Linked DNA regions of Homo sapiens: all the other regions are linked to region 1. The links are contacts of gene promoters, found by promoter capture Hi-C in blood cells and fetal thymus (Javierre and others, 2016). All regions are on one chromosome and are shown on one strand. Each heading gives the region's core, a stretch centred on a gene start or on the middle of the fragment in contact. The rest is flanking DNA. Distances are from core to core; before and after follow the strand shown. Region 1 holds the start of PICK1 (protein interacting with PRKCA 1). Region 2 overlaps DMC1 (DNA meiotic recombinase 1). Region 3 overlaps DMC1 (DNA meiotic recombinase 1). Region 4 overlaps DMC1 (DNA meiotic recombinase 1). Region 5 holds the start of DDX17 (DEAD-box helicase 17). Region 6 overlaps DDX17 (DEAD-box helicase 17). Region 7 overlaps KCNJ4 (potassium inwardly rectifying channel subfamily J member 4).

Region 1 (3,782 bases), core at 397-2,896:
GCTCAGAGTGAGACAGCGACTCACCCAAGATCTCCCAGCTACAAAATGGCAGAGCCTGGGCCTGAGCTAGCATGGTCATGGGCTGGAAGAGCCACAATCCATGTTAAGGCACCTGGGTTTGGAGACTGCTGCCTTTTTTTTTTTTGAAACGGAGTCTCTCTCTGTCGCCCAGGCTGGAGTGCAATGGCCTGATCTCGGCTCACTACAACCTCCCTCTCCTATTTTCAAGCGATTCTCCTGCCTCAGGCTCCCAAATAGCTGGAATTACAGGTGTGCGCCACCGCACCTGGCCTTAGACTGCTGCTTTTTGAAACCAAAATTCTGGCCTGGAAACAGAGCTTGGTTTTCCCAGCCCCAGCCCTGCCGCTATGATACCAGAGGAAGAGGCTTCCCAGGGCCTCCGTTTCCTTGCCTGCACAATGTGGCTGGCAAGATTTGGTCTTCTCTCACAGGGTGGTGGTGAGCTTTCAAATCCTGTGAAAGTGATCTCACAGGAGAGCAGTGGACACGTGGGAAGGCTGTTATTGTCACGGCATTCTGCACATCTGTCCGGACTCAATTAGCCACCTAAGGAGAGAGTAGGGCGGGGCTTCCACCGGCCGTGGGATATGTGGATAATCATCCTTCTGTATCTTTCTTCCATGGCTCCTGGGGCAGCTGGGGAAGCAAGCTGGATGGGCCTGGCCCCATGCTGCCGGATGAGGTGGATGCCTGGCTGTGGCTCTGGGAGAGCCAACCTCCCCCAGGGAACCCACTTTACACAATAGCAGTGGCAGCAGAGGCTGGCGAGGAGACAAGATTCGGACTCTGGGGAGCACTGATAGCATTTCCCGAGCCTCAGGTACATGCGGACCGTGACCCTCCCTGGGACCCCAGGGGGGCTGCTCCTCAGGACTAAGGAAGGAGGAGGGGGTGTGAGAAACCTTTCACCATATACCATAGAAAGCATTTACCTCAATGGCCTTGGTTTACATATGGGGAAACTGAGGCACATAAAGGGAAGGGAGCATGTCCAGTCTGTCCTTAATAGCAAGACCCACTGAATACACCTCTCCTGGCTCTCTGTTTAGTGTTTGGACGTTCAAAGATCCCTAGACTAGGCGGCGGGAGTTTCAGGGCCACGATCCAGATCTTACACCAACTGTGTGTGGCCCCGCACAAAATCACTCCCCGCTCTTTGGCACTTAAGTTGGCGAAACTGGGATGGGCTGGGACCTCAAAGGGCCATTCTAGTAGGGGAGTCACAGGCCCAGGTGGTGAAGGGGTGAAAGGGCATGATGTCTTGGGGTTTATAGTCCACTGAGCCTCGCCGGAGGTAACCCCGGCTCAGGGATGCTTTCGTTGCCATGGCAACCGCCGGGCCGGCGCGGGCCCCTGAGTGCAGCTGAGGAAGCTGGGACAAACCCTGCCCTTCCCAAGATGGCGGCGGCGGCAGGGCAAAGGGCGGGGTTAGACGCTGTCAGCCTGTCCAGACCGTTCCTCTGTTTTCGCTTGTTCCTACTAACAGCGAGCTTCCGCCAATACTTGTTCTCGTTCTTGGTTCCGAGCGTCCCGGGAGCCGGGAAGGGAAGGATTGTCTGCAGGGATTGGAGCAAATATCCAGTGGGGGGAAAGCCGGGACTTCCGCGTCTTGCCGGAAGTGACGTGACAATCGCGGCCACCGCCAGGTGGAACGGCAGGTGGGTTCAGGTACCAGCCTGGCCGGGACCCGGCTGTGGGACCAACGCTTCCGGTGAGCGACAGAGGCAGCTCCCCAGGGCCTGGAGACCCGTGGGGCGGACTCTGGGATCTGAGCCTATCGCCCTGGCCTGGAGCCCCCCTTTGTACCTAGTAAGAATCACCTACCCAGCCCCCCACCCGGAGACTGTCCCATCCCACTCCAGAGGGAAGAGGAGGGCACTGCTGTCCCGTATGAGGTGGTGGAGGGAGGGGTGGCGTTGGCATTTAGGCACTTGGGTTCCTTAAATCCTATGCTCCTTTCTCTCCCGGATCCAGTTCCCCATTCCCCTACCGAGCTGGGCAGTTAGCCAGCCCACTCCAACTCTCGGAACCATGTTTGCAGACTTGGATTATGACATCGAAGAGGATAAACTGTGAGTATTTTATTCCCCCAAGTTCCAGCAGTATAGGAGCCCCAAGTTCCTCATTTCCCTGGACTTCCCAGTCCCACAGACCCTTGCTTCTCAGCGGTGGATCAGTTGTTGTACTGAAGCAGCAATGGACCCTGCTCTCCCAGGAGCTCACTATTTGTAGGGGGCTGTGGACAGTTAAAGGGATAATCACAGCTCAGTGCCATAAGGGCACTATTAGCATGACTTGGTGACAAGAAGAGCAAAGCAGATGGAGCAGTGCTTCTGCTGGGATGGTCAAGGAAAGCTTCATGGAGGACGTAGCAATTGAACCAGGTTTTGAAGGTTGAATAGGAATATTGTAGACACCCTTCCTTCCCAACATAGGTTGTTAGTAGGACAGATTTTCCCATTAGAATATATCCTCTTTCAGATCAAGGAGTGGGTGCAATGCCTTTCTCTATGCTCAGCACTTAGTAAGGGACTTGACGTCAGTAGGTTGTTAGCGAATGTTTTTTGAATGAATAAGTGAATCAGCGTGAGTACTTATCATAAAACACCAGTCAATGCTAATTTATAGTGGAAACCGAGAGGTAATCGAGCAGTTGAGAGGTGGGAGGTGGACAGTTTAATAGAGGAAGACTCCCTGGAGTAGGTGGCCATCATACTACATAGATGCCTGATAAGGTGACAAGGACAGAACCTGGCTCAAATCTCAGAGATCGAATAAATGAAAGGGAAGGGGGACCTATTTTTATGGAGTGCCTGCTATGGACTGGGTTGCTGTTAGTGCCCTCCATGCATGGTTAGAAGAACTCTGATAAGGGTGCTCATCCACATTTTATGGATGAGGAAATTGAGATGCACAGAGGCTGACTTACCCAAGTCCCATAGCTGGCCAGGCACGGTGGCTCACGCCTGTAATCCCAGCACTTTGGGAGGCTGAGGCAGGCGGATCAACTGAGGTCAGGAGTTCAAGACCAGCCTGGCCAACATGGTGAAACCCCGTCTCTACTAAAAATACAAAAAAATCAGCCAGGCGTGGTGGCAGGCACCTGTAGTCCCAGCTACTTGGGCGACTGAGGCAGGAGAATCACTTGAACCCGGGAGGCGGAGGTTGCAGTGAGCCGAGATTGCGCCATTGCACTCTAGCCTGGGCAACAAGAGTAAGACTCCATCTCAAAAAAAAACCAAGTTCCACAGCTGATAAATGGCAGAGCTGGGGTTTGATCCCACATCTGCTTAACTCCAAGAGCTGTGCATGTTCCAGCACAAAATGTTGTTTTGTCCAAGGGAGGGAGAGAAAAAGCTGGGCAGCCAGTGGAGCCCCTCAGGAGTTTTAGAGGGCCCACCCGCTCCAGTCATCCTTCTGCCAGGAGAGTCAGCCTAGCTTGCTTTCCTTTCTAGCGGAATCCCGACTGTGCCTGGGAAGGTGACCCTGCAGAAGGATGCTCAGAACCTGATCGGGATCAGCATTGGAGGAGGGGCCCAGTACTGTCCCTGCCTCTATATCGTCCAGGTATTGGGCGCTTTGGAGGGGGGCACAAGGTACATCCCTACTTGGGCATGACAAAGGCAGGTTCATTTCTCCACACTGCATAGCTGACTCCTTCTCATTCTTGAGGTCTGACCCTCTCAGAGGGGCTTTCTGACCACCTGCGCTGCGTTGCTCTGCCCTGTCTTCTCCCCTGTGTCGCTCTGTTTTTTTCCTTC
Region 2 (3,782 bases), core at 646-3,145, 500 kb after region 1:
GGAGTCTTGCTCTGTCGCCCAGGCTGGAATGCAGTGGCGTGATCTTGGCTCACTGCAGCCTCCGCCTACCAGGTTCAAGAGATTCTCCTGCCTCAGCCTCACGAGTAGCTGGGATTACAGGTGCCTGCCACCACGCCAGGCTAATTTTTGTATTTTTAGTAGAAATGGGGTTTCACCATATTGGCCAGGTTGGTCTCGAACTCCTGACCTCAGGTGATCCGCCTGCCTTGGCTTCCCAAAGTGCTGGGATTACAGGCATAAGCCACCATGCCCAGCCCATCTTAGTTATTAATTGGGTATTTAATATTGTGCTGGAACTATGTTTCTATAGTCAATTGAATTTTCAATGTTTTTTCTTTTTCTTTTTTGAGACAGAATCTTGTTCTGTCACCTGACACAGGGCTAATTTTTTATTTTTTGTATGGCTGGGGTCTTGCTATGTTGCCCAGGCTGGTCTCAAACTCCTGAGGCTCAAGAGATCTGCCCACCTTGGCCTTCCAAAGTGCTGGGATTATAGACATGAGCCATCATGCCCGGCTTCAGTTTTTAATATACTGAAAAACATATGAAAAACAGGTATTAGGAAAATCCAGTGATTGTCATTATGGTCAGGTTATCTCACATAAACCAAATATTATGGAGGACATGTCAGAATAGTAAATGTCAAAGATGTTGTAGGTAATGCTAGCAGTTAGAAGAGTAACTGTCAGATTCTGACAGCATACATTTAATTGGTAGCCCAATGTTGTAGTGCATTTAAAGCTCTGAATAAGAAAAGGCCTAAATTTAAGTCATGATCTCATTCATTCATTAAATGCAACACATATTAATTGTGTTAATTGTGCTAAGACCTGGTAGGGGCACTTTAAAAACCTTGTATGTAGTCTATTAACATGATTTTTTGGGATGTGATCACAGGTCAGACAAAAATTTAAGATATATAGATAATCCAATACATTTACATTTACATAGTTTAAGAGAGCAATTTAAATGTAAATTGAAACAATGTTGGAAGTTATCCACAAATTTAGTGAGGGCTGCAGACTTCAATAAGGAAAAGAAAAATCTAGATAGTGTACCTGCACAACTTAAATCTAAAGGACATGGGCTAAGCGATCAACCCATTTGGAGGGAATACACTTGGAAATCTTATAGGCCCAGCAACTATTTTTTTCTTCAACTTTTATTTTAAATTCAGGGGTACATGTGCCAGATATGCAGGTTTGTTACATAGGTAAACGTGTGCCATGGTGGTTGGGCTAGCAACTATTAAAGAAAGCTTTATTTGTCCCTCTTCTTCCTGAGAAAAATTACCCTGGAAAGCTATACCTCTGGAAAATCCCAGACAAAATTCCTGGTTGATATGTAATCTCAATCAGCTGAAAAGGTAACCCCAAAATTTACCTGTGAGGATACCCCAAATTATTTGGGATAGCACAATTGTTTCCTTTTTGAGACTCAGGAAAATTTAGAATTAAGTGTAGAAATAGTGTTTTTAAATATAGGGAGATTTAAAAATAGAGACACAAATCAAACCCATAGATTACTATTTTCATATTAAATTTGGCAATATGGGCATGGTGGCTCATGTCTGTAATCTTAGCACTTTGGGAGGCCGAGGGAGGTGGATCGCTCGAGCCTGGGAGTTCAAGACCAGCCTGGATAACATGGCGAAACCCAGTCTCTACAGAAAATACCAAAATTAGCCAGGTATGCTGGCCTGTGCCTGCAGTCCCATCTACTCAGGCTGCAGTGAGCCGTGATGGAGCCACTGCATTTTAGCCTGGGTGACAGAGTGAGACCGTGTCTCAAAAAATAAAATAGAATATAAATAAATAAATTTGGTAATAACCTGTGCATATTTGCTATTTGAGACCTTTTAACGTTTAAGATAATTTGACCTTTTTGTAATGGATTGGCCTCTGACTGATTAAATGGTACATTCCTTCAATTTTCAAGTTGATAACTAATTTTATAAATAGTATTTGAACATTTAATGGTGCCTACAACTCACTATACTTCTAAATTTATTTGAGTTACAAAAGATATTTAGGTAATTGGGAAGATTTTGCTGTTAATAATTAGATAATTAGACAAAGTTCTTTTTTTTTTTTTTTTTTTTTTTTGAGACGGAGTCTCACTCTGTCGCCCAGGCTGGAATGCAGTGGCGTGATCTTGGCTCACTGCAACCTCTGCCTCCTGGATTCAAGCAATTCTCTGCATCAGCCTCCTGAGTAGCTGGGATTACAGGCACCCGCCACCATGCCCGGCTAATTTTTGTATTTTTAGTAGAGACAGGGTGATCCTGTCTTTAGTAGAGACCTTGTGATCCACCCGCCTCAGCCTCCCAAAGTGTTGGGATTACAGGTGTGAGCCAGTGCACCTGGCCAACAAATAAAGTTCTTAAAGAAAATACAATACACTAAATGTATAAACATAATTAAAATGTTTAAGAGAATTTAATCTTGTTATAAAAGCACCCTTAAAATGTGCTAGATTTATAAAGGGACTTAAAGCTTAAGGAAAAATGTATAATATTTTAATTAATTAAATATTAATTTTTAAAAACCTAGCTCCTGGCTGGGCGCAGTGGCTCACATCTGTAATCCCAGTACTTTGGGAGGCCGAGGCAAGTGGATCATCTGAGGTCAGGAGTTCGAGGCCAGCCTGGCCAACATGGTGAAACTCTGTCTCTACTAAAAATACAAAAATTAGCCCGGTGTGGTGGCACACACCTGTAGTCCCAGCTACTCAGGAGGCTGAGGCAGGAGAATTGCTTGAACCCAGGAGGCGGAGGTTGCAGTGAGCCGAGATCATGCCACTGCACTCCAGCCTGGGCGACACAGCAAGACTCTGTCTCAAAAGCAAACAAACAACAAAAAAAAACCTAGCTCCTGAATGATCTTTTCTGTTCTCAAGAGCAAACATCAAGGGCACCAGAAAACTCACAATAACAGTAATTATTTCTTTAGCCCAGTGGTTCTTAGACCACCATGTGGTAGAGTAACTAAAGAAAATCAGATTGTCATTTGAATCAAGTGTTTTGTTGATCAACCTCATTTTGACCAATTTGCCTAGGGGTAGGATTTCTCCAAGCCTCTTCCTTAACTTTACTTGAAAAAAGGGTATGTGATTTTAAAAGTCTGGGACAATGCTGGGTTAAACAGGTATTTTCTTTTTCTTTTTTTCTTTTGAGACTGAGTCTCACTCTATTGCCCAGGCTGGAGTGCAGTGGCACGATCTCGGCTCACCACAACCTCCATCTCCCAGGTTCAAGCGATTCTCCTGCCTCAGCCTCCCGAGTAGCTGTGACCACAGGCACATGCCACCATGCCCGGCTAATTTTTTGTATTTTTAGTAGAGACGGGGTTTCTCCATGTTGGTTAGGCTGGTCTCGAACTCCTGATCTCAAGTGATCCACCCGCCTCGGCCTCCCAAAACGCTGGGATTAAAGGTGTGAGCCACCGTGCCCAGCCATTTTTTTGGTAATTTTTAGTAGAGACAGGGTTTCACCATGTTGGCCAGGCTGGTCTAGAACTCCTGACCTAAGGTGATCCACCCATCTTGGCCTCCCGAAGTGCTGTGATTACAGGTGTGGGCCACCGTGCCCTGCCAAAACAGGTGTTTTGTGTCACTGCAGGATTTCACAGGCTAGTGTGCGCTGTGACTCTTCAAGAAGAATATATAGTATATGGTACTTCTCAAACTTATTCACTATTTGTTTATTCATTCATTTAGTCATTCAACAAATATTTATTGCACACCTAGTTTATGCCAGGGAT
Region 3 (3,782 bases), core at 338-2,837, 480 kb after region 1:
TATTGGGGCTTACGTCATAGTTGCTCCTGGATCGGCAGTCATTTGATTGGTCACAAAAACAGCCACGTTATATTCTGCATCAAGAGATAAAATTTTAAAACTATGAGAAAGGCAATATAGATATTTAAAAGTTCATTGTTTAGATTTCAGAGTTTAGACATATTGCATCATGAATTTATTTTATAAATAACATCATATTCCTATTTTTCATTGACAACAGAAATTATTTGTTATTATTATTATTAAGGTTAGAATAAATATTTTTGGTTTAAAAAGAGTTGTAAAGCCGGGCTCAGCGGCTCATGCCTGTAATCCCAGCACTTTGGGAGGCTGAGGCGGACAGATCACGAGGTCAGGAGCTCGAGACCAGCCTGGCCAACATGGTGAAACCCCGTCTCTACTAAATATACAAAAAATTGGCCTGGTGTGATGGCAGGTGCCTGTAATTCCAGCTACTCAGGAGGCTAAGGAGGAAGAATTGCTTGAACCTGGGAGGCGGAGGTTGCAGTGAGCCGAGATCGCACCACTGCACTCCAGCCTGGGCAACAGAGCGAGATACCATCTCAAAAAACAAAAAAAAAACAAAGAGTTGTATTCTCATAAAGGTAATTTTATTTAAAAAAAAATCGCTGCCTCCTGACATTATATTCCAAGCTTCTCTGCAAAGTATACTTGACAAACATAGTCACAGATGCCATTTTATTTTAAAGATATACCTTCTGAGATTTTTTGGAGTCGTGACAACATCTGGGCCAATTTTTGCTGCCGTTCGGCCAACTCCCCACGGCCACTGAAATCCACTCGAAAAAGTGCCATTATTGAATCGATAATCTACACAGGATTAATGTAAAAATAAACATGCATTTGGAAATTGAAGGAAGACGTTATTTGAATAGAGATCAATAGAAGAAAAATATTATGCTAAATAGCTCTGTGAAAGCAATATTTAAAAGCTTGTACCAATAGCTTGAAGATGCCAGCTTCTTCATGGAACTTTGCTGCTACATAATCAAGTAGCTCCATCTGATGTTCACCTGATGGGAAATGCAGTGAGAAAATGTTATAAAAGTTGAAAGAAGCAGAGGCTAAGATCATTCATATTCTTGGGAGCCAGGCAAAATAAATTCCTTGAAGGATTTTCTTAATTATTGATGACTTTATTAAATATTATTGCAGCAGGGCATGGTGGCTCATGCCTATAATCCCAACACTTTGGGAGGCCGAGGCAGGTGGATCACTTGGGGTCAGGAGTTCAAGACCAGCCTTGCCAACATGGTGAAACCCTGACTCTACTAAAAAATACAAAAATTAGCTGGGTGTGGTGGCGTGTGCCTGTAATCCCAGCGACTTGGGAGGCTGAGGTAGGAGAATCACTTGAAGCCAGGAGTTGGAGGTTGCAGTGAGCCGAGATCATACCACTGCACTCCAGCCTGAGTGACAGAGCGAGACTCCATCTCAAAAAAAAAAAAAAATTATTGCATATTCTGCCTTAGCATGTATACCAAATGCTACATTATCCAAAAAGAATGTTACTCTTAATTTCAAAGACAAAGAATAATAAATAATTTGAGGGCACTTTATTATCTAAGGACTTACCAGATGATAAAATTTATAGACTGAGTAAATTAATTTAGAGAAAAATAAAATAGAAAAAAAGTATCAAAATGTTGTATCCCTCAAGTAGTAAATCAGTGCTGCCAACCTTACATTGACCCAAGCATCCAACTGCATGGGGCTCTTACTAGTATATGCACGTGCATAAAGTACGTTGTCCAGTACTGCATCATGGTCTACATTAAAGCGATCAGCAATGTCCCTAAGGCGATCTGGACGGCTGGAGTATGCCAAGATTAAGGATCCAATAAGTCAATTCTAAAAAAGTTTAGACAACCACTACAAAACATAATATCTTCCGTAAATTAACAGAGAAGCCAAACAATGTACCTGTGAAGGTATTCTAGAGGATGCTAGCAACCATTTAAAGTCTATACAAGATTTGTTTATTCATAAGTGCCTCAACTTACCATAGGTAGTGATAATGGTCATAGAAATGTGAGGCAGTAATGACTTTAACTATTAAATTATCAAAACTTTACAATAACCTTGGAAGCTAGTTTTTATGGCCTGTTTTACATTTTACAACGTAAGACACTGGCAAACAGAGATTAGGCAAATGACTTGAGCTTATGCAGCAAATCAGTTACAAGAGAAAAACTAGGAACTAAGCTTTGTGAGTCCTTTTGTTCTCAGATCTATAAAAATAGACCTGTAATAGATAATATCACTGAATTATAATTCAATAACTGCAAAGTGAATTAATTCACTCTCTTCATACCCCTCATTCCTCAATATGAAATAGTTTATTATATTATTAATCACATGTTGTTAAATGATAAATTTGACTACATGAACCAAAGGGTCAAAAAGGTAACTTCAAGGGCCCAGAAGAGAAATATCGACCAAAGGTTTTTTGTTGGCATAGGTTTTCTTTTTCTTTTCAAATCTTACCTGGAAAGTATATACAGTTTAAAATCTACTTTCTTCTAAAGGAGTTGTTAGCTTTTTTTTTGTTTTCTCCTCCTTCAGTCTCCTGAGTAGCTGTGATTACAGGCGCGAGCCATCATACCTAGCTAATTTTTGTATTTTTAGTGGAGACGGGGTTTCACCATGTTGGCCAGGCTGGTTTCAAACTACTGACCTCAAGTGATATGCCTGCCTCGGCCTCCCAAAGTGATAGGATTACAGGCATGAGCCACCATGCCTAGCCAGGAGTTGTTAGCTTTCTGAAATTAGCAAATTCATAGGGAAGCAAACTAAGTGCACCTGCAAAAGTATTCTGGAAGAAGCTAATAATCACTTATACCTATAAACTATAAAGGAGTAATAAACATTTTTTTTAGGTCTTTGGTGATCCCAACAATATGTCTGAAGTAAAATGAGGTAAAATTAAATGCATGTTTGTAACCTTATTTCACTTTGTTTATAGTGTTTACATAACACTGATCCCAGTATAAGTAACTGTAAATCAAGGACCATTTATAATCTTATTTGTGATGTTTGCAATTAATTTAAATTCCCAGCCATTTATATCCTAATGCACTAGATATGTTCTTGTTGTTAGAGCTTTGGTGACAGCCACAAAAATCTTCCATTGTTATTGAGTATACCCAGTAGATGTTTTTGGTGGACAAGTTAGACAGGGAATTGGAAGAGGCAATAAAAACATTTTCATCATGTCGGTTTCTACAAATCCCAGATACTATGTTGTGGCAGGCCAGGTCTTACTAATGCAGGCCTCCATAACAACTGTTTCAGCACTGACTGAGTGGTTAAGTTAAATATTAAAAGCTGAAAGTGCCCTTATACAAAGGCTGGAATGTAACAAAAGGCCACCAAGAGTTTTGCCCAGGCCTTTCCTGGGCCTTGAAGCATGACAAGATAATGAAGAAATTCTTAACAGTACCTGTTTAGGATTAAACGAGTTTTACTGGGGGCCTGAAGAAACTCCCTAGGTCTCCACAAACAAGTTATTGGGGGTCTGAAGGAACTCCCCAAACCTCCATGATTTAGCAGGAGATAAGATAAGGGTAATCACCCCAGCACCTGGACCCATTTAGATTAAGTAAATTTACTGAGGCTCCAGAGGAATGTCTTTAGGACTCAGATCTTAGTTATAGATCAAAAGAAGTTAATCACTTATATATTTTTAAAAATTTTTATTTTATTTTTTTGAGATGGAGTCTCACTCTGTTGCTCAGGCTGGAGTCCAGTGGCACAATCTC
Region 4 (3,782 bases), core at 885-3,384, 460 kb after region 1:
AGGCATCTCAGGACTAACAGAATACAAGGGAACAGAAGTTTATAAAAAGCTCTATTTCTATAAATACTATATTCATGTCACAGGCATTATGTGCCCATCAGTCTGAATCTCCAGAGACATCTCAGAGTTGGTACAACCAAATGTGGCCTACAGAACTTACCCACAAGTATTATTAACCCTCACAAACATTTATTGAGCAACTTCTATATATAAAGTTCTGAATGTCAAGAAAAATTACTCCAAACTTGGAAACAGGTGAAAGGATAACTGGATGTTCTTTCATTTATTTATTTTAATTTTTTTTTTTTGGCGAAGTCTTGCTCTTGTCCCCCAGGCAATGGTGAGATCTCGTCTCACTGCAACCTCTGCCTCCTGGGTTCAAGCCATTCTCCTGCCTCAGCCTCCTGAGTAGCTGGGATTACAGGTGCCTGCCACCACGCCCGGCTAATTTTTGTATTTTTAGTAGAGACGGGGTTTCACCATGTTGGCCAGGCTGGTCTTGAACTCCTGACCTCAGGTGATCCGCCTGCCTCGGCCTCCCAAAGTACTGGGATTACAGGCGTGAGCCACTGCGCCTGGCCAACTGGATGTTCTTTTAGTATAGTGTCAGGCATTGTATAGCAGCCCCTTAGAGGTTTATCTGATTCTATAGGGGTATGCACCTTTCTTATGACTAGACTAATGTAGGAGCAAACTGTAAAATACTTTGAAATAAATTAAAAGATTACTGAGTACCTTCCATGGAAACATAGGTTGTCTAGCACATCCTCCCAGGTTATCCAATTCTTTTTTGTTTTTTGTTTTTGTTTTTTTTTTTTGAGACGGAGTCTCACTCTGTCGCCCGGGCTGGAGTGCAGTGGCGCGATCTCGGCTAGTCTCAAACTTCTGGCCTCAGGTGATCCGCCCACCTCGGCCTCCCAAAAGTGCTAGGATTACAGGTGTGAGCCACTGTGCCGGGCCAAAATCTGTAATTCTTAATTAAACACGTAAAGTGCTGAGAAAGAATATAGGGTATAATATACTGAGTAGCCTAGACTGTAAGGGTTAGGGAAAGGTTCCCTGAGAAAGTGATGTTTAAACTGAAACCTGAAAAACAAATAGAGTTAACCTGGCAAAAAGAAAGGAGGATATGTTCCCATACTTGATACTTACCTTGTATTTAACACAATTTAATTGGAATTGATGATTTCATTATCTAGGTGTATGCTTTGAAAGGTCAGGGACCAAGTCTATGTGTCAATAGAATCCCTCAATCCCTAGTACCTAGTAACAGTAGGGACTTCCCAATAAATTGAATAATTTTTTAGAAAGAAATTCAAACACACAGCATCTGGCAGTAATAATTACAGCCTTGTGGTGGCTCACACCTATAGTCCCAGCACTTTGGGAGCCCAAGGTGGGAGGATTGCTTGAGCCTAGGAGTTTGAGACCAGCTCGGGCAACATGGCAAAACCCCGTCTCTACACACACACACACACACACACACACACACACACACACACACACACACACAAAATAAAAAAAAATTTACCTGTCATAAATCTTGGCAATTCTGAGCTCTCCTCTTCCCTTTCGCAAGCTTATTCTTGTTGTTGAAGCATGAGCCAGAATGTGTCCCCCAATGGGTTTTTTGGGATCTGCCTGAAAGCTGAATTAATAAAATACTCTTTCAGGTTTCATCATATGGACTATATATGGCAATATCTGCAATTACAAGGCAATCTTTCTGTGGTGGATGTCAGGAGTTGGAATAAGTGTATATTCTAAACAAGCAGAGGCTTGTTCATAAACTAAGGAGTGAGGTGAGTTTTGGAGCTGCTATATACCCCATCTAGTCTAGGCTTTTGAGATTCCTATGATAAATAGTTTATATTTTGTTTGACTTTTTTTTTTTGAGATGGAGTCTAGCTGTGTCGCCCAGGCTGGAGTGCAGTGGTGTGATCTCACTCACTGCAACCTCTGCCTCCTGGGTTCAAGCGATTCTCCTGTCTCAGCCTCCCAGGTAGCTGGGATTACAGGTGCCCACCACCACGCCCAGCTAATTTTTTGTATTTTTAGTAGAGATGAGGTTTCACTGTGTTGGCCAGGCTGGTCTCGAACTCCTGACCTCATGATCTGCCCGCCTGGGCCTCCCAAAGTGCTGGGGTTACAAGCACGAGCCACTGTGCCCAGCCTGACTTTAAAAAATGAGATTACTGGCTGGGCTCGGTGGCTCGTGCCTGTAATCCCAGCACTTTGGGAGGTCGAGGTGGGTGGATCACTGAGGTCAGAAGTTCGAGACTAGCCTGGCCAACATGGCAAAAACCCATCTCTACTAAAAATACAAAAATTAGCCAGGTGTGGTGGCGTGTGCCTGATGCTTGTAATCCCAGCTACTCTGGAGGCTGAGGCAAGAGAATTGTTTGAACCCAAGAGGTGGAGGCTGCAGTTAGCTGAGATCAGCCACTGCATTCCAGCCTGGGCAACAGAATAAGACTCCTTCTCAAAAAACAAACAAACAAAAACAGAAAGAAAAAAAGAAAATGTGGGCTTAGAAATCATCAATAAGGGAACAGCACAAACTAAAGGTTATACTTGATCAAAATAAACTATGATATAGAATAATAGCTTCAGTTCTGAAAGAATATAGTTACAAGTCAATTCAAGTTGTGCTTGCTCCATTAAAGTGTTCATGATTCTGGTTTTACTCTAAGCTTCAGGCTTGGTATAGCAAGGATGTAGCTGATTGGCATGAGGTTAAATATATTTAGACTGTAGGTTGGTCGGGATAAGAAGCTCTTTGGTAAAGGAGTTTGCTGAGATAAACTGCTACTTGATTAAATGGCTCAGAGGTTAGGACCAGAAGACCCCTGGTTGGTGCTGAATAGGATTAAGATTCAGTAGAAACTGGACACTATGGCACATATCTGTAGTCCCAGCTACTTGAGAGGCTGAAGCAGGAGGACCACTTGAGCCCAGGAATTCAGAGGCTAGCCTGGGCACCATAGTGAGGCCCTCTTAAAAACATTTTTAAAAAAATGTTTTAAATGCAAATGCAGCAGGTCCAACATAGGAACAAGGACAAAGAGTTAGTTTTGGAGTGAACCACTATCAAGAAAGTAGTAGCCAGACAGTTGAGACTAACGGCGGCAGTTAAGAAGTCAGAAAGCTGGGTTGCTTTGCCAGGCACCTGACATGGTAGTAAAGCAATAAAGCCTTCTCAGTTGGATAAAATAGCTAGATAAGTGAGTTGTCTCTATAATGCTTACAGATCGATGCCACTTAACTTTTCAGGTCACCCTACCTTACAGGTGGTTCTTCATGGTTTTAAAATAATCTTATGTTCTATATAGATGGGCTGCTTGAGACCCTGAGGATATTCTCAACTGAGCTATGAACTCCGAGCCTGCAAACACTGTATTTATGCTTCTGTAATGTACTTTTCATGTTCTGCCTTTAGTACTATTATTTATTTACTTATTGTATTCCTTCTCAATTCCTCTCTTATTCTCTATCACTAAGCTCCTTAAGGGCAGACTATATTGTGTTTAGTTCTGCACAACCAGGCACACAGTGGGTGTTCAAAATTGTTTTTTCAGCTACGTGGGAGGCTGAGGCAGGAGAATCGCTTGAACTCGGAAGGCGGAGGCTGCAGTGAGCTGAGATTGCGCCACTGTACTCTAGCCTGGGTGACAGAGTGGGACTCTGTCTCAGAAAAAAAAAAATAGTTTTTTCAGCTTAAGATATTTATGCTACAACAATTCCAAGGGGAATATTGGACTGCAAAAAGATTGGTGTTTTCA
Region 5 (3,782 bases), core at 490-2,989, 450 kb after region 1:
ATTTAAGGCTTTAACACTCAACTAATTACTTAAGATCAACTTCTTGCTTTTTATATACCTTTCACAACAGACAAGCTCAAGAGGAATACAAATATGACCACTAGCCAAAGCTAATATTTAAGAAATCAGAAGCTACTTTTCCTAGAAGAATCTTAACACTAAGATGGCCTTAATTTTCCCTATTTCGATCTTGTAAAGTACAGGTCTTTGTTTGGCATACAAACTGTATAGCATTTTCTCAGTTTCTTTACTCCTTGTAAAATATTGTACTGAATTTAGTTCCCTTTTCCCACTCTAACCCACTTGTAACTTCATCTTATATAAAGTTCCACTTTATCATTGATAGGCAAGTAGGTGTATTATTCTACAGGGCCTCAATTTCCTGCAATTCAAAGCCATTAGAACTCTGGCTTAACCAGCCAGACATTCCTCTAAATACATACGTAACAAAAATTGATGGCAGGAGATTTTATTGGGATCACTGGATACCTACACTCAACAGGCAGAACTTGGCTAATTCCATTTATACCACTACTGAGACAGTGAAGACAAATTAAGAATCAGAACAGGAAGAGCACATAGCATAGGGATACCCGTGTCAGCGACATATTTAATATGCCCCTCAGCTTAAGACTCAATACTGAACAGACCAAAAGGCCACCTCAATTGCCGCTCCCGCCACACTTGCAAATGAAGCAGCTAAATAAGGTACTTTTCAAGAGGTAGAAAGTCTTTGGATTATCACTCTTGCAAATTATAAAAGACTTCATTGTTATTGCCACATTGCAATGCTACCCAAACCTTAGTGACTTAGGAAAAAATAAAACTTGAAAGTAAGATTCCTGTTAAGGCTTTAAACTGATGATTATCATTCATGTATTTTTTTTTCCTCTCTCCTTACTTCCCTGGCTATTTATTCAAGACATTCTATTCTACACTAAACATTTAATTTGAAACATGTGGTTCTTGGAAAATATGCCGTCTTCCATGTTTATAATTAATGCTGACATAATTAATGACCTCAAAATTCAAGAAAGCCTTTTACTTTTGAGCATATCCATGCCATCTTTAAATACGCACACTGTACTCTCTGGTATACTATGCTGCTCAAATGTTTTTATCCGGTCAGTAATTAGTTTAATTTGGCTTTACAAAAAAATTCACCTTTGAAGTCATATATTAACATTAAAAACCATACTACTTCAAATGTACAATGCCTATCATTTTTGCATCACACATGTGAAATACATGAACTGACCTCACCTATTCCTTTTTCAAAATAACCACCACTTCAACTGTGTAACACTCAGTTGAAACAACAGCAATTCAAATAATCAAGAACATTTCTTGGGAAAGGGAGAGTTGGGGCACAGATCTTATGAAAGAAGGCTAGTTCGTTTGAAATTTTTAAAAAATGTCATCTGATACTCAAAGTATGGATCAGTAATTCACTTTTTTCCTTTCAAATAACTTATTAAAGCATATATATGGTGAAAGGAAATATTAAACCAAACACCAATGGTAAAGAAATAGAACACTATTAGTAACTTGTAGCCCCTCTATGTGCCTATTTCAAGCTTACAACTTTCACCCTAATAACCACTACCTTGAATTTTGTTAACCACTCCCTTTCCTATCATATTTGCACATATCCTTAATTAAATGTGTCACCCTACCACAACGTGCTTTTTAACTCAACACTTCTGTGACTTATCCACATTAATCCAAGTTCTTTTCTCTTTTTCACGGCTGATTCAATTGTACGAATACCCACAATTTATGGAGACATTTGCGTTGTTTCCAATATCCTGTTAGCACGAATGCTGGTATATAAACTTTTCTGTACAAGGATCCTGGGGTACCTGTGCAAGGATTTCTCTAGGCATTACAGTCTAGGGTATAAAGCTTAGGGAGGAATTGCTGGGTCGTTTTCAACTTTCCTAGATAATCTCAAGTTCTTTTTCTAAGTCAATGAACTGAAATTCACTTCTAAACTTAGCAATACTGTCACACGCGAAGCAAACATTCCACCTCTCATCCTCTAAACAATGAGATAAAATATTTTCCTTCCTAATAAGGTATAAATCAAAATAATTTTGTAAAAAGTGGCAACTGAAGTGCTTGAGACTAGTAAATCCAGCAGTTGTGGATCTGAACCACAAAAGACAAAAACGTTTGGAGAAAATATCGTTAACAGAGCGCCTACTACAGTGAGACTATTACATCCATTATCTCTTAATTCCTGACAACACAGCAAAGTAAAGGCAATTATCACGTTCCTCAGAGGAAACAGGCTCACAAAAGGTAGGATCTTGACCAAGGTCACACACACACATATCAAGTGGCGTCACGTAACTCTTTGGGGAAGCGGGGGGGTCGGGGGAGACGGAGTTTCGCTCTTGCCACGGGCTGGAGTGCAATGGCGCGATCTCGGCTCACTGCAACCTCCTCCCCCCGGGTTCAAGCGATTCTCCTGCCTTGGCCTCCCGAGTAGCTGGGATTACAGGCATGCGCCACCAAGCCAGGCTAATTTTGTTATTTTTAGTAGAAACGGGATTTCTCCATGTTGATCAGGCTGGTCTCGAACTCCTGACCTCCGGTGATCCGCCCGCCTCGGCCTCCCAAATCGCTGGGATTACAGGCCTGAGGCACCACGCCCGGTCCACAATACCAAGAACTTTCTAGCGAGGCAGAATAGTTGACGCTGCAGTCCAATTAGAGAAAAAAGGCTGAAATATTAAGATTAAAACTAAAGTAACGACCCAAAAACCCATCCTTCCCCCAAACACGGTCATTTAGATGGCAAGCAACTCCACTGCTTTACATCCCAATGCATTTCCTCCGACTTAAAATATAACTGAAGAGAATTAAAATCTATTTCTAAAAATGAGAAGTTGGTCTTTTCGTCTCCCGTGCCTTAAACAGTGAACTCTGGGGAGAGAACGTCAAGGGTGCCATTTCGTGTAAGGCTTTCCTGGGCTGAAGTGTTCTCTCAGGAAGATCCGCGTTTTTCAGATGAACGCCGAGGCCTGGAGACATCGAACAGCCCGCCCGAAGCGGCCCGGCTCGAGAGCCGGGAAACCAGGCGAGGCGCCAAAGCCCGGGCCTGGGCTGATGCGGCCAGGCCGCCCCTCCCGATCCCCCGCGGGGCTGGGATGGGGCCGGGCCGCGCCACGACGGCCGTCCGCACGGAGAGGCCCAGCGTCGCCAAGCGGCCGCCCTCCTCGGGTCCCGAGTGACCCCGGGGCCGAGGTCCGCGCACGAAACCGCTGTCTCGCCTCGAGTCGCCTCCCCTCGCCTCCCGGGTCGAGAGCAAGGCTCCCAGGCTCGCAGTCCGCCGGGCCTCCCCAAGAAGCAACTCCCCCACCCCCACGCCAGGCCTCTCCTCTCCTCCCCCACCCTTACCCTCCACGGTCACGATCCCGGTCCCGGTCCCCAAAGCCTCCTCCGCGCATGGTCCCAAAAGGATAGAGATCTGGGAGCGGGGCACGGATGGCCGGGCTCGGGAGGGCCTGCGGCTCCGGTCTGGTGACGACCGATGGCGGCGGCGCCTCCGCTGTTGGGGCGGCGGCAGGCGCAGCGCTCTCTCGCTCCGACGCGCTGTCTCCCGTCGCAGACGCCACCGTCGCCGCCTCTCTCGTCGGAGACGGGAGCAAAACACAGAGAATCGGGGCTACAAAGCCGGTGGGCAGGTTTGGCTACGCTCAAACCGGGCAGTGCCGCGGTTTAGGCGTCTCCTTCCTTCCCAGCGACTGCACAAAATGGCGGCCGCCGCTGAGTCG
Region 6 (3,782 bases), core at 542-3,041, 430 kb after region 1:
CAAAACCTCGAGTATAGATCTTACAGATGAGCAAGCATTCAGGCCTTAGCCAAAGAATGCAGTGGAGCCTTCCCCCTTCAACTGCATTGTGAATGAATACCAATTAACAGCATAAAAATTAATAGTCCCATATCAGATCTGGAAGGGGTTTCTGGGGCTGTCTGATGTCCCTATCCTGTTGTAGTGAACACAATAGCAGAAAATTCTTTCTGGGTCCATCTGCTATAAAGTCTTGGTAAAACAGCATTACCATGAAGAGGATGAACTCACCTACCTTCAGATGGAGGAAAAGTGAAAAGGACTTAGGCTTTAGTCCTCCATGACTTTTCTTAAGCACTACCTACCTGTAATAAGCTGAGTGCAAAAGGATGCCGAAGAAAATCTGCACCCAGAAGCTGTTAGAAAGCACTGCAGAGAACAGGGTATGAAGAAAATAAAGAGTTCTTAATAAACCCTTAAGATTCTTTGTTCAAGGTAACTTTGCCAAAAGGGCAGAGTAGGTGGCAAAGAGTTGCTTTTAATCTAGCTCTACACTGCATTTGAAAATAAAATTTGCCCATTTTGAATATATTGTTTATAATTAAATGTGCTTTTTACACTGCAGGTCAATATAAAAACTGGTTAGTAAATTTCCAGCGAGCATTTATGTTCATTTGCTCACAGCAGCTGTCTGGATGGAAAATTAATTTCACAGATGGTCCCCAGTTAAACTGGGAAGAAATATAGGCAGCTTCCACCCAGATGCTGAGATGCTACAGTTTAACCACTACAATAAACACTTGTGGTTTTTAATTTAAAGGATACACAAAACTCAGCAATTCAATTTCTAGCCTGACACTAAAATGGTTATTTTTCAGTAACGGGGGGAGAAGTGGGGAGGCAGAGTGTGAAGGGAAATAAAACCAATTAGTAATTTTTAACTATCAAATGCACTCCAGCAATCAGTCAAAACAGGCCCGAGGAAACCTGTTCCAACTTAAGAAACATTTAAAAGCACAAAAGAAAATGTGCAGGGCAATCCCTCTTTGTTTTCTAACCCAGTAATGAGAAATTTAAAGCACAGATGCCATCTTCCTCTGCAAAACAATTCAGCCCTCCCCCTCCCTCCCTCCCCACCAACTCAGAAAAACAAAACATGGGGCTCCCACAAAAGGGCCTAATACCTTACTCTTTTAGATGAAAAATAGCTCAAATATCTTCAACATGCAAGAAGTTGGGGGAAGAAATTAATCTCTTCCAGTCAGCTATATATATATATATATATTTTTTTTTTTTTTACAAAATGTTATTCCAGACTGGATCATTTTGGTGGGCAGAAGAAACCTGGCAGTGAATTCTAACTAATCTGCATGAAAAGACAAATCACGATGGTTGGGGGGAAAAATTAAAAAAAAAAAAAGAAAAAAGGAAAAAAAAAGAAAAGGCGAAGAGGAAAAAAAAAGGAAAGACAGTGTTCCTTAAAATGTAATTAAGTCTGCTGGAGTCACTACCACTTGAGTGGTTTCATTTACGTGAAGGAGGAGGAGGGGGAGGAGGAGGAGGGTATTGGTAGGCAGTCTGCCCCATGTAACCTATCATATTGGTAGCTCCCGGAGGCTGTGCAAACTGTTGTGACATCAGTGGCTGTGGCTGCTGCCCAGACCGGCCTATCCCACTAAACTGCTGGCTAGAGCTCTGTGAACTTCTCCCAGTTGAGGTGGTGCTACTAGCTCCATAAGTGCCAGCACCATATTCTTGAGCTGTATAGCTACTGGTGCCATAAGCAGCTGCCCCATAGGTGCCTTGACCATAGGTGTATTGGCCTGCTTGTGCTCCAAAGGCAGAATTTGGACTTCCATAGCCACTGCCATTAGCATAACCAGCTCTATCGGTTTCACTACGATCCCGATAGCTTGCAGAGTCTCTCCGGCCACCATCCTTGACTCCTCGAAGCCTTCGGTCACACTCATCCTGATACATCAGATTGGGATTGTTGGCTGAAGAAGTGGTCCGGTAACGAGAACGACCACCTAATGGGAAGATACAAGAAGATTTTTAATGGCAGATATAGGACCTAAACATAACAATGTAAAAATTCTACTGGGTACAAAAGTATTAAACATGTCTCCTTGATATTTAGTTATGCTGGCCAGCCTCCCAATTAGTACTGTAAAAATATACTCATAATTTGATTCTTTAATGGGGCACATTCAAAAGCACAGTAAAAATTAAAGGACACTAGACCTTTTCACCCTTTTAGGCCCCTTACTTGAGGATGATCAAGAAACACGGTATTACAATATGAAACCTTGAGTCAGGAAGCCCAGATCCTAGGATATTCTGCAACTGTAGATGCAACTGCTATGTCTCAGTTTCTACCCACCACTAAACAGTGTAAAATGACTGACCTCTCCGTATGGAAAACTGGAAACCTAATATACTACTAAGCATTTTTGAAAGTATTAAAAAAGCAACCATGACCGGGGGCACACTGGCTCACTCTCGTAATCCCAGCACTTTGGGAGATCAAGGCAGGAGGGTCACTTGAGGTCAGCAGTTCAAGACCAGCCAACATGGTGAAACCCTGTCTCTACAAAAAATACAAAAATTAGCTGGACATGGTGGCACATACCTGTAGTACCAGCTACTTGGGAGGCTGAAGCAGGAGAATCACTTGAACCCAGGAGGCAGAGGTTGAAGTGAGCCGAGATCGTGCCACTGCACTCCAGTCTGGGCAACAGAGTGAGACTGTCTCTGCCCCCGCCCCGCCAAAGCAACCACATTAAAACTCAGACCAGCCTCAGCTAGGTTTGGTGGCTCACTCCTGTAATCTCAGCACTTTGGGAGGCCAAGACAGGTGGATCACCAGAGGTCAGGAGTTCGAGACCAGCCAGGCCAACATGGTGAAACTCCACAGACCAGCCTCAGCTAGGTTTGGTGGCTCACTCCTGTAATCTCAGCACTTTGGGAGGCCAAGACAGGTGGATCACCAGAGGTCAGGAGTTCGAGACCAGCCAGGCCAACATGGTGAAACTCCACCTCTACTAAAAATACAAAAATTAGCAGGGTGTGCTGGCGGGTGCCTGTAATCCCAGCTACTTGGGAGGCTGAGGCAGGAGAATCACTTGAACCTGGGAGGCAGAGGTTGCAATGAGCTGAGATCGCGCCATTGCACTTCAGCCTGGGCGACAGAGCAAGACTCCGTCTCAAAACAAACAAACAAACAAAACCAAACCTCAGACCAGTCTCTAAGAAAAAAAAATTCACAATTTAGCTTAACTAATAGGACTATCACAACAAACTTCACGTTTTCTTAGTTGAAAAAGGTTATAAAAAGCATTAGGCAGTGTCCTTTGCTATTAAGCAACATACTTACAGCCTTCTTAAAAACAGCAACTAAAAGCAAGTCACAGAAGGCGTAAAGAGATACCTTGGCAGTACCTGGAAAACTCCAGGACTTACCCTTACCCCCGCCTCCGCCGCCTCCTCTGTGGTCCACAAGCTGCATCAGTTTTGGATTGATAGCCTGATTGGCCTCTTCCAGCACTTTGATAAGCTCTCTGGCCTGTTTTAGGTTCCCTGGGGTGAAGAAGGTATAGGCGGTACCCTTGTTGGTGCTACGGGCTGTTCGGCCAATACGGTGCACATAATCCTCTGAGCTGTTTGGATAGTCATAGTTGATCACAAACTTGACATCTTCCACATCTTCCACGTCAATGATGAGTCAGTGTGTAGGTTGATGTGGCAGGGAAAGAGAAGGTAAAGGACATGCCAACAACAGGTGGGAAGCACGAATGCAGATG
Region 7 (3,782 bases), core at 759-3,258, 390 kb after region 1:
CTCCCAGGCTGAGTGGTACCTTCACACTCACAGGGCAGAGGGTCCTGGGCTTCTCAGGCCTATGAGGAGAGGGGAGGCTCCTGGGGGAGTCTAGGGTGGGGGCTGGGAGAGGAGCTGCAGGGGGTTGGGGGAAGCTTCACTGAGGTGTCCCAGGGGCCAACTCTGCCACCAACTTGAAGATGGGCACACCCCTCCCCTAGGCCTGAATCTCCCCATCAGTAAAATGGGGTCAGCTCCCCACAGCACATGCACCCTCTCCTGTGGCCCAGCTAAAGAACCCTCCCGTCCGGGTGCAGTGGCTCACCCCTGTAATCCCAGCACTTTGGGAGGCTGAGGCAGGCGGATCACAAGGTCAGGAGTTCAAGACCAGCCTGACCAACATGGTGAAACTTCGTCTCTACTAAAAATACAAAAATTAGCCAGACGTGGTGGCACACGCCTGTAGTCCCAGCTACTCGGGAGGCTGAGGCGGAAGAATCACTTGAATCTGGGAGGGGGAGGTTGCAGTGAGCCGAGATTGCACCACTGCACTCCAGCCTGAGAGACACAGTGAGACTCTCAAAAAAAAAAAAAAAGAAAAGAAAAGAAAAGAAAAAAGTAGCCGGGCATGGTGGCGCATGCCTGTAGTCCCAGCTACTTGGAAGGCTGAGGCAGGAGAATCGCTTGAACCCGGGAGGCAGAGGTTGCACTGAGCTGAGATTGTGCCATTGCATTCCAGCCTGGGTGACAAGAGCGAAACTCCGTCTTAAAAAAAAAAAAAAAAAAAAGGAACCCTCCCATCCCTGCAGCCCGGGTCGCTGGTGTGTGAGCTTCTCCCAGGACAGGCAAAACAGGAAAAGGCTGAGCACGCCCCACCATCCCCATGGGTGGCCCCCGATACACAGAGGGGCAAAGAGAGGCCCCCAGATGGACAGTGGCCTAGTCAAGGTCATGCGGAGCCAGTGAGGGGCTGAGCTGGGATTCGATCCCAGGCCCCTGACGCAGGCCACCCTTCCTACTGCTGTGACCAGGGAGTGCTGCCCTTCCCCTCGCTCCGATCTGGGGATTTTCTGGGGAGAAGGAGCTTAAAGAGACCCAGACCCTGCTCGCCTCCCACAGACCCCACAGCTCTGGGGAGTGTCAGTGAGAGAGGAGGGGCCGGCAGCCCTGGGAGCCATCAGGACACAGAGGAGTCAGGAGCAGCTCCGGGTTGAGAGGCTCTGCCACCATTGCTGAGTGACCCTGGGCAAACCCTGGTGGTCTCCGGACTCGGTTTCTCCATCTCCCAGGAGAGGAAATGGAGAGAAGGCCAATGCAGCCGCAGACAGGAGCTGCTGGGCCAGGCTTGGTGGGGGCTTCTCCTCCATCCCAGTCCCAGGGAGCTCCTCCGCCCAACTGCACCTCCCATGCCCCAGCTCCCCTCTGCCCTGCTGGGGGCCCCCCAGGCCTAGACCAAAGCTCCCAGCTGACAGGTCACCATTACAACGCTGACTTCTCCCTCCACAGCTCCTGCTGGGGTCGGGAACACCAAGGACCCCCTTTCCTGGTAGCCCCTAAGGACCTCTTGACCTGCCAATGTCTCTCTGGGGCACCTCACCCTCCCCTGCCTGCCAAGGCCAGACGTCCCAGCTGTTGGCACCAGGGCTGGTCAGGGACTGGCCAGCAGCCACAGGGAGGAGTGGCTGAGCTGTTGCATGGAAGGAAAGGGGAGGCCTAGGCTGGCAGACATGTACCCACCTCCCTTCAGGTGGCCAATGAGGGTCCTGGAGGGGCTGGCACTGGGTGCACAGTAGGACAAAGCATCTGTGGCTGTTTCCACCCAGGAGCCTGGAACCAATCCTTGCTTCTCTCTGAGCCTCAGTATTCTCATCTGAGAAGTGGGGGTGATGGTTCTCCCAGGGTGGTGGAGGATTAAGTGAAATCATGAATATGAAGCCCAGCGCTGAGCCTGGCACTCAGCTTCCCTCCTGCAGCAATACCCTGAGAACACTGCTCTCACCCCAGCCACCAAGCAACGGCACCAGCCATCTGAGCAGCCCTCACGCATGCGCATGCGTGTGTGCCTGTGTCTGTGCCTGAGCATGCACGCGCAGGCTGAAAGGGGGCTGCGAGCAGGTGGGGCAACGGGTGCAGAGGGAGGGGCAGGGGCCACACGCCAGCACTCCTCCCCACCGGTTTCCCACCCTGTGTGTCCCAACAGAGAACAGTGGTCTTAGAATCAGGCAAAACCCATCCATTCAAATCCAGCCTGTTTCCAGCCAGCCACTTCCCCTTGCTGAGCCTCAGTTTCCCCTTCTGTAAATGAGAATCATCTATGTCCAAAGTCTTCCAGGTTCACGACAGGGACCCCGTGTTGGGCCACGGGGCCAGGATTGGTCAAGACCTTTGGGAGTGGGGGGCCAAGACCAGAGCAAGCCAGAGCGTGAGCTCACCCCTGCTCCCCATGCTGCACCCCACCCACCACCCCGTGAGCGCCCGTGTGCGCGCCTGCAGGAGCGCGCGTGTGTGACTCAAGGTCTATTCATAGCCGAGCTCCACCAGCTGCAGCGTCACAAGCAGAGGGGCCTCAGCCCATATTATTATTTCAATTACCATCTGAATTAAAAGTTTGAGCAGCGATCAGCCCACGTAGCGAGGGGAAGAGGGAACAGGAGAAAAATAAAGATGAAAAGGAGAAGAAGGGCTGTGACTGGCGATCCCCCACACCCCAAGGAGGGCTGAGTCCGCAGAGGAGGCTTAAAGGTTATGCCAACCCCTAGGATTCCCGCCTGCCCCTTGCCAGGACCCACAGTCCTCCCATCGTTGGGAGGAGCGCTTTTCGACAGCAGCCCAACCACAGCTACTCGGTGGAAATAGATCTTTCAGCCCAGGTTCACATGGATGGGTGGACATCACTCGGAGAGGGTGAGGGACTGACCTAAGGTCACACAGAGAGCCACCCAAGGAAGTTGTCTCCAAGACCCTCTCCTGCCAGCCAGGTCCCACTGACCTCACCAGGCTCTGTAGCACATGTGCCATTTCCCTTCTGCTCCCCTCTCCCTGCGCCGATAACTTTCCTCCTGCAGCCCTAGCTTGGAGCCAGCCCTCTCTCAGCCCTCTGCATTCCCGACCTCACACCTCATGCCACCACCGTCAGCCCAAAGGCCCCTCCTCACTCACTGGCACAGGGGACAGAGCCCTGGGCCAGGAGACAGGCAGCCTGGCCCTAATCTAACTCTCTGGGCACCTTCGGGCAGGTCATTCCTTGTCTCTGGGCCTCAGTCTTCCCATCTATGAAATGAGTTCTCCCCTAAGATGCATGGTGGTATCTGTCTTCAGAATGGAGCCCCCAGAGGAGCCAGAGGATCCCTGAGGGGGTGTCACGCTGTGGGGGCGTCTAGACCATCTCCTGCCAAGCCCCAGCCCCAGGGAGGAACGTTTTCCACTCTTTCCCCAGGGAAGCCCCAGAGACAGCCCCCGAGAATCAGACTAGTCTGAACTCACACCCAGGCTCCTCTGCTGTCTTACTGTGTGACCCTGGACAAATCACATAGATTCTCTGAGCCATGGCCCTTCCATCTATAACACGGGGACATCAAATCAACATTGCCATGGAGAATTAAATGGGAATTTGCAAAAGCTCCTAGCCCAGTGCCTGGCGAGCAAATGTGTTTCCTCGCTGGGAAGCGGGGAAGCGATGGGCACTGCTTCCCAGCTCCTCTTTGGGAAACACCAAAGACTCCTAGGATTTTGGAAGTGGGGATGTTATTCGGCCTCACCCGTAAGGCGAGAGTCACCTGGCAGGTGCTCATCTGGCTCTGCTT

What was found. Contacts are between HindIII fragments. The CHiCAGO score rates a contact against its expected background, and 5 or more counts as called.
Region 2: a fragment that was not itself captured here is called in contact with the fragment with the promoter of PICK1 in region 1 in 6 of 17 cell types (endothelial precursors, M0 macrophages, M2 macrophages and 3 more); the score reaches 9.0 in endothelial precursors.
Region 3: a contact is called between a fragment that was not itself captured here and the fragment with the promoter of PICK1 in region 1, in 2 of 17 cell types (endothelial precursors and M0 macrophages). The highest score is 9.1, in endothelial precursors.
Region 4: a contact is called between a fragment that was not itself captured here and the fragment with the promoter of PICK1 in region 1, in 2 of 17 cell types (M1 macrophages and endothelial precursors). The highest score is 5.9, in M1 macrophages.
Region 5: a contact is called between a fragment that was not itself captured here and the fragment with the promoter of PICK1 in region 1, in 5 of 17 cell types (M2 macrophages, total B cells, naive B cells and 2 more). The highest score is 6.5, in M2 macrophages.
Region 6: a fragment that was not itself captured here is called in contact with the fragment with the promoter of PICK1 in region 1 in 1 of 17 cell types (M0 macrophages); the score reaches 5.3 in M0 macrophages.
Region 7: a fragment that was not itself captured here is called in contact with the fragment with the promoter of PICK1 in region 1 in 1 of 17 cell types (endothelial precursors); the score reaches 5.7 in endothelial precursors.

The regions. Positions count from the first base shown.
Region 1 is chr22:38,055,758-38,059,539 of GRCh38, forward strand. It overlaps PICK1 (protein interacting with PRKCA 1), which reads left to right and starts at 1,647. Exons shown (of 13, transcript NM_012407.4): 1 at 1,647-1,830; 2 at 1,996-2,093; 3 at 3,477-3,588. The coding sequence starts at 2,053. RefSeq lists enhancers at 1,099-1,724, 1,421-1,480, 1,725-2,348. The HindIII fragment of the contact is 5,557 bases long and covers 1-2,374 here.
Region 2 is chr22:38,555,855-38,559,636 of GRCh38, forward strand. The region is part of intron 5 of DMC1 (DNA meiotic recombinase 1); the gene reads right to left. Among named protein-coding and RNA genes, the nearest start is that of DMC1, 12 kb to the right of the region's middle. The HindIII fragment of the contact is 1,237 bases long and covers 1,278-2,514 here.
Region 3 is chr22:38,537,579-38,541,360 of GRCh38, forward strand. It overlaps DMC1 (DNA meiotic recombinase 1), which reads right to left. Exons shown (of 14, transcript NM_007068.4): 9 at 1,743-1,834; 10 at 961-1,034; 11 at 717-831; 12 at 14-74. Among named protein-coding and RNA genes, the nearest start is that of DMC1, 31 kb to the right of the region's middle. The HindIII fragment of the contact is 1,273 bases long and covers 952-2,224 here.
Region 4 is chr22:38,520,077-38,523,858 of GRCh38, forward strand. DMC1 (DNA meiotic recombinase 1) reads right to left here. Exons shown (of 14, transcript NM_007068.4): 13 at 1,532-1,648; 14 at 1-13. Among named protein-coding and RNA genes, the nearest start is that of DDX17, 16 kb to the left of the region's middle. The HindIII fragment of the contact is 1,114 bases long and covers 1,578-2,691 here.
Region 5 is chr22:38,502,546-38,506,327 of GRCh38, forward strand. DDX17 (DEAD-box helicase 17) reads right to left here and starts at 3,766. Exons shown (of 13, transcript NM_006386.5): 1 at 3,406-3,766. The coding sequence starts at 3,692. RefSeq lists enhancers at 2,831-3,722, 3,602-3,782, 3,723-3,782 and silencers at 3,042-3,211, 3,242-3,511. The HindIII fragment of the contact is 328 bases long and covers 1,576-1,903 here.
Region 6 is chr22:38,484,432-38,488,213 of GRCh38, forward strand. DDX17 (DEAD-box helicase 17) reads right to left here. Exons shown (of 13, transcript NM_006386.5): 12 at 3,448-3,684; 13 at 1-2,009. The coding sequence ends at 1,504. Among named protein-coding and RNA genes, the nearest start is that of KDELR3, 18 kb to the left of the region's middle. The HindIII fragment of the contact is 8,417 bases long and covers 1-3,782 here.
Region 7 is chr22:38,447,500-38,451,281 of GRCh38, forward strand. All of the region lies in intron 1 of KCNJ4 (potassium inwardly rectifying channel subfamily J member 4), which reads right to left. Among named protein-coding and RNA genes, the nearest start is that of KCNJ4, 5.8 kb to the right of the region's middle. The HindIII fragment of the contact is 3,753 bases long and covers 133-3,782 here.